Linked DNA regions of Homo sapiens: all the other regions are linked to region 2. The links are contacts of gene promoters, found by promoter capture Hi-C in blood cells and fetal thymus (Javierre and others, 2016). All regions are on one chromosome and are shown on one strand. Each heading gives the region's core, a stretch centred on a gene start or on the middle of the fragment in contact. The rest is flanking DNA. Distances are from core to core; before and after follow the strand shown. Region 1 holds the start of ZBTB33 (zinc finger and BTB domain containing 33). Region 2 holds the start of ENOX2 (ecto-NOX disulfide-thiol exchanger 2). Region 3 overlaps MCTS1 (MCTS1 re-initiation and release factor).

The links. Contacts are between HindIII fragments. The CHiCAGO score rates a contact against its expected background, and 5 or more counts as called.
Region 1: a contact is called between the fragment with the promoter of ZBTB33 here and the fragment with the promoter of ENOX2 in region 2, in 4 of 17 cell types (activated CD4 T cells, non-activated CD4 T cells, naive CD4 T cells and 1 more). The highest score is 8.2, in activated CD4 T cells.
Region 3: a contact is called between a fragment that was not itself captured here and the fragment with the promoter of ENOX2 in region 2, in 1 of 17 cell types (naive CD8 T cells). The highest score is 5.6, in naive CD8 T cells.

What each region holds. Positions count from the first base shown.
Region 1 is chrX:120,249,458-120,252,157 of GRCh38, forward strand. ZBTB33 (zinc finger and BTB domain containing 33) reads left to right here and starts at 1,355. Exons shown (of 3, transcript NM_001184742.2): 1 at 1,355-1,520. It also overlaps a transcript of TMEM255A not described here. RefSeq lists an enhancer at 1,062-1,900. The HindIII fragment of the contact is 5,064 bases long and covers 1-2,050 here.
Region 2 is chrX:130,901,930-130,904,629 of GRCh38, forward strand. It overlaps ENOX2 (ecto-NOX disulfide-thiol exchanger 2), which reads right to left and starts at 1,280. Exons shown (of 15, transcript NM_006375.4): 1 at 1,120-1,280. RefSeq lists enhancers at 646-1,165, 1,026-1,295, 1,166-1,685, 1,306-1,495. The HindIII fragment of the contact is 1,854 bases long and covers 1-1,769 here.
Region 3 is chrX:120,605,109-120,607,808 of GRCh38, forward strand. MCTS1 (MCTS1 re-initiation and release factor) reads left to right here. Exons shown (of 6, transcript NM_014060.3): 2 at 299-451; 3 at 971-1,068. Among named protein-coding and RNA genes, the nearest start is that of MCTS1, 2.4 kb to the left of the region's middle. The HindIII fragment of the contact is 3,910 bases long and covers 1-2,700 here.

The sequences.
Region 1 (2,700 bases), core at 105-2,604, about 11 Mb before region 2:
TGACATCCATGTCTGATTTCCTGTCAGAGAAAATTAGATATAGTTACATCTGTTTTCAGTCTAATATCCTGATGGACATTTTCAGCAAGATTTTTTAGGAAAGAAGCACAGGAATTCCACTGCAAGGTATTAATAGGTACAAATTTAAGATTTTGGAAATGAATGCAGTATTATCCTATATATATCTTTTTAAAAAGATAATGAAGGTAGTGAATGGCCTTAATTATGGCAGAAAAAAAGTTACTATTTGGTTCCTTAGTTGAATACGATCAATAACCAGCCTAAAAGGGAAACATTTTGCTCTCCAAACACCCATCCTGTTGCTTCATTTATTATGGTACTCAGTTGGAAGGGTATTACCAGAGGATTTTAAAAAATTATGTAACTCACAATGTATTTTTTCGGTCATTAAACAATCACTGAACACATACTATGTGTCAGACACTAAAGCCCTCTGAAGATGAAATGTTATGGAAATAGTAATAATAAAAAATTAAAATAGTAACAATAAAAAATTAAAAATGCAAGTGTTAATATTATTAATCTTTCAAGATACAGGTCAAATGACAGCATTCAATTTGCTATTCTCTTCTCTCTGCTTCTACACCTTGTACAAATATTTTTGTCCATGTTTGTGTACCTACCTACTGAGCTCCCTAAAGAGGTAGAGACCTTTGGGTTATTCATTTTTGTATTCCCGAGAGCCTAACATAGGGTTTTTGCTACAGATCAAGCAGGGGGTCAGTAAATGCTAGTTGGAATGAGGGAATTAACATAGTACTGCACCATTTAGTATTCAATTAAGAAGATAGTTGTCCAAACACTAAATTTCTTTCTTAAAAGTAGTTACTGTAATGTAGTTGCTCTCTTGTTATCCCAGAACTTGAATTACCATAAGAAGTTGTGAATTTCTATTTGATTGTATGTATTTTGATTATATTTCAAGATGGTTTATCATCTAGCAAACAGTCTAATAGAGCAGATTCAAACTTGCAAAATAAATGAAACCTGTATAGTCTCTAAAAGTTTGTATGCCCTAGAAGTTCACATTGAATTTCGATGAAAACGACTCGCTTCCCTTCCATCCAATTGCTTGCGACTGTCTTACCCGATCTTTCCCTTTCCTTTTTTCCCACCCGTTAGCCCTCCGGAAAGAGCCGAACACACAAGAGCTTCCCAGTCTTCCTCCGCCCCCTTGCGGAAAGAACCGAAGGCAGAGCACGGCGCCGAAGTGGAGCCGCCTCAAGCTCGGGCCCTTCCGGACCACCCCGGCCTGCGCTCGGAAGAGGAGGGCGCCTTTGGCTTCAGCGCTTCGCCCCCGCGCTGTGCCCTCTGTCGGCGGCGTGGGGCAGCTGTAGCAGCGTTGGCGGCAGGAGGCGGCGGCCGCGTCGACGTCGACCCAGACTGGAGCGACGTTTAAAGAAGGGGCAGAATCGCTGGGGAGTGCGGCTTCTTCTTGTTGGGGGACTCCCAGCCTTCCGCGCGTCCGGAGGAGGAGAAGCGGCGGCGCCGGGAAGCAGGTGAGGACCCGGCCCCAATCAGGGAGGGGGCGAAGGAGCGCGCTTGCCTTCTCCGTCCCTGGGCCGCGCCTGCGTTTGCATTCGCCTCACTTGAACCAGGAAGCGGCAGAGTCGGAGGCTCAGCTCCTCCGGCTCTTTCTTTGTGTGGGCCGGGGAGCGAAGGAGGGGACGAGCCGCGAGGGCCGCGGCGCGGTCCCCTTCGCCGTTAGGGGCCGAGGGGCTGCCGGTGCCCTGGGTAGGCCCCGGGGCTTGGGGAATCCATCACAGAGACCCACTTGGCTTTTCCCTCGCCCCTCTCGCTGCTTTTTTGTGCCTCTTTTACTCCCCTAGCCCCTACTTTGATTTAGAGCTTTTCTGCCAGGCCCATCCTCCCCTTCCGTCCCCTTCCCGGGGCACAACAATGCCGCCTGCTTCGCTTCATCCCCCCCCCAACACCCCACCCTGCCGTTCGCCACCTTCTACTTTCCCTGGTACCCCATATTCCTCCCGCCCTCACTCTGCTGTTTGTACCTCCGTCTGTATTTGCAAGAAGCTTGCTTTGCACGTGAATTGGGGTTAAAAACCTCGGTTGCAGCTGGCAGGGTCCATATGGGGAAGAGGGAGGTGGAGGAAGGGAGATGAGGTTCAGCTGCCGCAGGGAGCCGCGTGTCGGTTTGTTTCACTCCCTCGCGGATGGCTTTTATCTCTTTCCACCGTCACCAGCTCCTCCGAACTGGCCCTCGGTCAAGGGTTTCACAGTGATGTGGAATGGCTTTTCCACAGTCGAATCGCATATCTTCGGAGTGGGTTCAGACCGACTTGTGCTGTCTCTGGGGCCACCCTGAGTGGGAGGAGGGGGACACATAAACGAAACGAAACCGAGTCCCAGTGTCACCTGGACACGTACATTTGACGCATTCCCATATTGGAAGAACCCGGGAGCAAATGACAAAAATTGCGTGCCGTTTTCAGAAAACCTGTCTTTCCACTTAATATCGACTTCTGTCGAAATGCCCGTATTTCGGAAGCCCTGGTTTTTGGCAAACTGTCCAAAGGTCACCCTTTCTGATGATGAATGCCTTTATGGTAACCTGGAATTCCTTGGTACTGTTAACATGCAACACCTTCTAATAATGTTTTAAATCTTGATTTTTAGACTTTTTGCCTGCTGTTTGTTCTTAAGGTATCATTTTGAAAAATT
Region 2 (2,700 bases), core at 30-2,529:
CCCTCTTCTGTTTACCCTTCTCAAAGTCCAATCTCAGTAGCAGGAAGCATTTTCTCCCTCCTCTTTGACAACTTCAAATCCCCTGTACTCTGCTGGAGCCCAGATTAAAATTCACCTCCTTCACAAAGCCTGAAAGCCGGATGAGGGCTTCAGCACTTCCCGGGTTAGGCTTGAACTTCCATAGATGAACTCACCACCCCCATCAGTATGCTCTTCCACTGACCCCTCTTAGCGTTTTTTGCACACGTTTGTAATAATACAATGATTAATATGGTCTGTTTCACACGGTCTACTTTATTCTGTAGAATAAAGGTGTGCCCCCTAAATGTTTGTCAACATTAGTGCTATCAGTCTTTGCTGGAAACCCCTAAAGCGCTGGATTTTTATAACCAGTCTAACTTGCCTTTTACTCTCACCAGAACCCTGCACTGAACCTTAAACACACATTTCTCAAAAGCAAGATTCCTTCCCTCTTTTGCTTCCCATCCCTTCTAGAAATTGAGGGGAAACTCTCCCCACTTCAAAGACCTGGTGGGGGAAGTGGCAGGTGGCTGAGGGGCCAGTAAAGAGATGGCGATCAATTAAGGAGGCAAAAAGAGAAAGTTTGAAAAAAAAAAGTCACGCCCTGAGCGTGGCAAGGAATTCCCATGCCCCAAAGAAAATGGGGAGTGTAGCGCAGGGAGGGTTATGTGCCCAAACCTGAAATACAAATTGAGGGAAAAGAGGAAAGAGATCACCCAATTCCTGCGGTAAGAATTAGAGTCCAGTCACCGCCTAGGCAAAACCCTGGACGCAAACCCCAACTTCGGACCTCTGAGGAGGCACAGAGCCAGGGGGAGGGGGGCGGCGTCGTGGGAAAAAAAAAAAGGGGCGGGCGAGTTGGACCAAAAAAAAAAAAAAAAAAGAGCAAAGACAGCGCGCTCCCGGGCTCAAGAGAACTGGCGCCTAGAGCTCAAAAGCCCACCCCCGACTCCCAGTCCCGATACCCCCTCCCCTGCAGAGGTGGAGCTGGGTGGAGTTAGGCGCTGAGGACCGCGGCCCCGGAAGCACCCTCCTCCCTAGGCCCCCTCAGTCCCACAGTCCCCAGCCACGGCCACCGGGGCTTTCTGCCTCTCTGACCTCCAGCTCCCCGGCTACCGAAGCGCTAGTCCTTATACAGCCGCGGAAAATCGGGCCGGCGCGGCAGTTCCTGGGCTCGTAGTGCCCTCGCGGCGCCCCACGCCGCGCCACTCTCTTCCGAAATGCCCGCCTCGCGCTTCCAGGCCTAGACCCGGCACTCTGGCCCAAGGCTGGACTCTCACACACAGGGTGCCCACTGCGGCGTCTCCTATTGGCTACTGGTCACCGGGGAAGCCGGAGGCCCGAGCCCATGGCTTCATGGGAAATGTAGTTTGAGGTCGCTGGAGGCTGTTCTTCCTGGGGGTAACTCGTGTTGACATTGGCAGACAGACACAAGTGAGGACCGAGAATTATGGGAGATGGAGTTGCGGGACACTTATTTCTCTATACGCACAATTCTTCCCCTCCCCTTCCGATTGTCCCCAGCGTTCAGACGGGGAAGGGTATTCTGGGTATTGTAGTTTGGGTGCACTGTCTAGAGAATCTCTCTTGGGGTTATGGGTTTGTGCTTGTGGGGACAGACGAAGGCTCTAGATTTATTTTCATGTCGGTTAAGCTCTTAGCATTTTGCGGGAAGCACTTTCTATCGTGATTTGAAATTGTTATTGAGTTTTAAGTGTTTTTCAAAAGATGATGTTTATTCTTTGGTAAGCTTAGAATTTTAATTGAGAGTTATAGTCCTTTAAAATTGTTAAAGTGTGTTCCTTGTGAACCACCTGCATTAAAATCACTTGAAAGGTATGGAAGAATGTATATATTTTTTTCTAATTGGAAATTATAGTTCCCCCTGGAAACAGTGTCATAAATAGGCATAGAAATGTGATCTACACCAGCCCAGAAGAAGCCTATTTAATCCATAATGAAGCTATGTTGTTGCCATGAAAAACAGTGGCCACATAAACTGCTATAAATAACAATTTAGAACAGATAGACAATACAACTTAAGTACAAACGAGTAACTATATGTGTCTTTAAGAAACTTAACCTTTTGAGTAAAAATATGTTACAAGAGCTGGATAAAGACATAGGTGGGGAATGCCAAGCACTTCCAAGTGACTTAAAGGTTGAGGAAAATGGTTGTTTATTAGGGCTAATTTCACTCCCAACTTTTGACCTTTTTTTTTCTCTGTTAGAGATGAATCCTTGTAGCCTTGTTACAGTTGAATTACTACAACTTCTTGATGAGGACAACTTTTCGACTCACGAGTAAAATGAAGGGAAAGACAGGGGAATTGCATTTTGCTGAGGTAATTGCCCAATATTTTAAAAAGATAAGTGAAGGAGGAAGACGATTTAATAAATTCAACCATTTATTCAGCATAGTGCTTTGTGCAAAGCTCTGGGCTAGGCACTGTTGCCACAGAATTGGAAAAATAGTCCCTACCCTCAAGTAGCTCAAAATCCAGGTGAGGGGAGTTGTAGTAGAGGAGAATCTGGGGGGAGGAATAGATGAGTATACAATGTGCAAAATGCTGTAAAGAAGTCTACATAGGGTTCTATAGGAACATAGAGGAGGAAGAACTTGTTCTACTTCTGGAGAACTGGTTGAAGAACCAGTAAAATATTTGTCAGATTTGGGGC
Region 3 (2,700 bases), core at 14-2,513, about 10 Mb before region 2:
AGGCATTTGTGTAGCTAATTACAGATTATGGTGCAAAGTATGTCTCATATTCCTCCCCCTAACCCCAGCTAATTGCTGTATACTTGACAGTTTATTTCAATATTGTATTAAGACATTGGTTTTGTGCTGGACAGAGTAAAAGGGAGATGGTATTTTTTTTTAAAAGAACAATTTATTTCATAATTAAGTATCTAAATACTTGGTTGGGAATAAATGACTAATTAGAACAGTACCTTTAGGTATTCTGATACCTCTACTTAGAAATGCCTTTTCTTTTCTTGCAAAAATTACTTGGCAGATTTGATGAAAAAGAAAATGTGTCCAACTGCATCCAGTTGAAAACTTCAGTTATTAAGGGTATTAAGAATCAATTGATAGAGCAATTTCCAGGTATTGAACCATGGCTTAATCAAATCATGCCTAAGAAAGATCCTGTCAAAATAGTCCGATGGTAAGTCTTTGTTTTTGTCTGTGTAAAGCTCGGTATAGCTGAATATTTAATGATTAGATTGCACTCATACTAAATGGAATTATTTTCAGATTAACTATTGATAGATTAATAATGGGGTAGACACAGAATAACTCTAAAACTCCAATATTTGTATTTTCAAAGATTTTCTATGTCCCTGAAAAAATGTGGCTTTGTGTATTGATTGTTCTAGTAAAGAGTTAAATGTTTTAGTTCAGAGTTGGATTTAATTTATTTCAGTTTGTTGTTTAGAGAATTGTTTTATTGAATTACCTAACAATGGAATTAATAAAATGTGAAATAAAATTGGTTGTAGCAGGTAATATTTTTCTTTTTTTCTCTACTGGACTTGCATGATAGGAAAAACAATGTAAACAATATTTTTTGGCCAGGATTTTTACTGACTTTTTAAGAAAGTTTATCACTGTATATGCGTGTTTTATATTGTGAATTTTTGAAAGAAAATATCTAACTTGGTACTTTGTGACATTTGTCTTACAGCCATGAACATATAGAAATCCTTACAGTAAATGGAGAATTACTCTTTTTTAGACAAAGAGAAGGGCCTTTTTATCCAACCCTAAGATTACTTCACAAATGTAAGGTTTTTTTATTTTTATTTTTTGAAATTTTACTCCTATTGCAATATTCAAATGTAAAGTCTTGTAAGAAATATGCATTTAATCAGATAAGACACTGCTGGGGGAGAAAAACAGAAATATGCATTTGGGAATACTGAAAGACACAAAAAGAGTTTAGAGTGACTTCTGATAATTGACTCATTATTTATTAGTACTAGGTAATAATGGATGTAAAACTAAAATGAATGCCCATCTTGTGGTAAATCTGAAAAATGCAGATTCTCTCATGCATTCCAGAAAGCCCAAGAAAGATCATTTATTAATTCATTCAACAAATATTTATTGCCGGGCACGGAGGCTCACGCCTGTAATCCCAGCACTTTGGGAGGCCAAGGCGGGTGGATCACCTGAGATCAGGAGTTCGAGACCAGCCTGGCCAACATGGTGAAACCCCGTCTCTACTAAACATACAAAAGTTAGCCGGGCGTGGTCACAGGTGCCTGTAATCCCAGCTACTCGGGAGGCTGAGGCAGGAGAATCACTTCAACCCGCGAGGCGGAGGTTGCAGTGAGCAGAGATCACGCCATTGCACTCTAGCCTGGGGAACAAGAGCGAGACTTAGTCTCAAAAAAAAAAAAAAAAAAAAAAAGACAAATATTTATTGAACTTACTATGTGCTAGGCATTCAGCTAGGTGCTGAGAATACAATGGGAAGCAAAGACATTGTCTCTGTCCTTAAGAAACTAATAGTCTAGTTTGGAGAATAAACAACAATTAGATAATTACGCAAATATGTATTTACAAACTGTGATAAGCATTGTGAGCATTTTCATCTTTTATATTTGTATCTATTTGCCTAATAGAGAAAAGTCTATATATGGGAAAGCATTGACTAAGTGTCCTTCCGTCCAGGTATTTCCTGTGATGTGTGTAAATGCATTTTTTTTTAAAATTGGGCTCTCTGTTACATAGTTTTTAAAAATTGATACGTCATAGCTGTACATTGTCTGCTGTTGTGGTGCCTGTATCCCCCACCACCTATATATATTTATAATAGTTGTACATATTTTAGGGGTACATGTGATATTTGATACCTTTATACAGCGTGTAATGATCAAATCAGGGTAATTAGGGTATCTGTCACCTCAAACGTTTATCTTTGTGTTGAGAAGATTACAATTCTTCTAGCTATTTTGAAATATAGAGTAAATCATTGTTAAATATAATTTCCTTATTGTACTCTCGAATACTAGAACTTATCGACCTGTATTTTTATACCCCTTAACCAACTTCTCCTCATCCCCTTGTAGTTTTTTTTTAAATTAACAGGCTTTTATTTTTTAGAGCAGTTTTAGGTTTCCAGAAAAAGTAAGCAGAAAGAATAGAGTTCCCTCTCCCCAGTTCAGATTCCCCTATGAATAACATCTTGTTTTGGAATGATACATTTGTAACAATTGAACCAGCATTGATACATTATTATTAACGCAAGTCCTTAGTTTACATTAGGGTTTACTCTTTGTATTCTACAGTTTTATGGTTTTTCCCAAATACATGTCAAGTATCTACTGTTAAAGTATCATACAGAATGGTTTTACTGGCCTAACATCCTTTGTGCTCCACCTATTCATCCTTCCTCCCCCCACTTCCCCA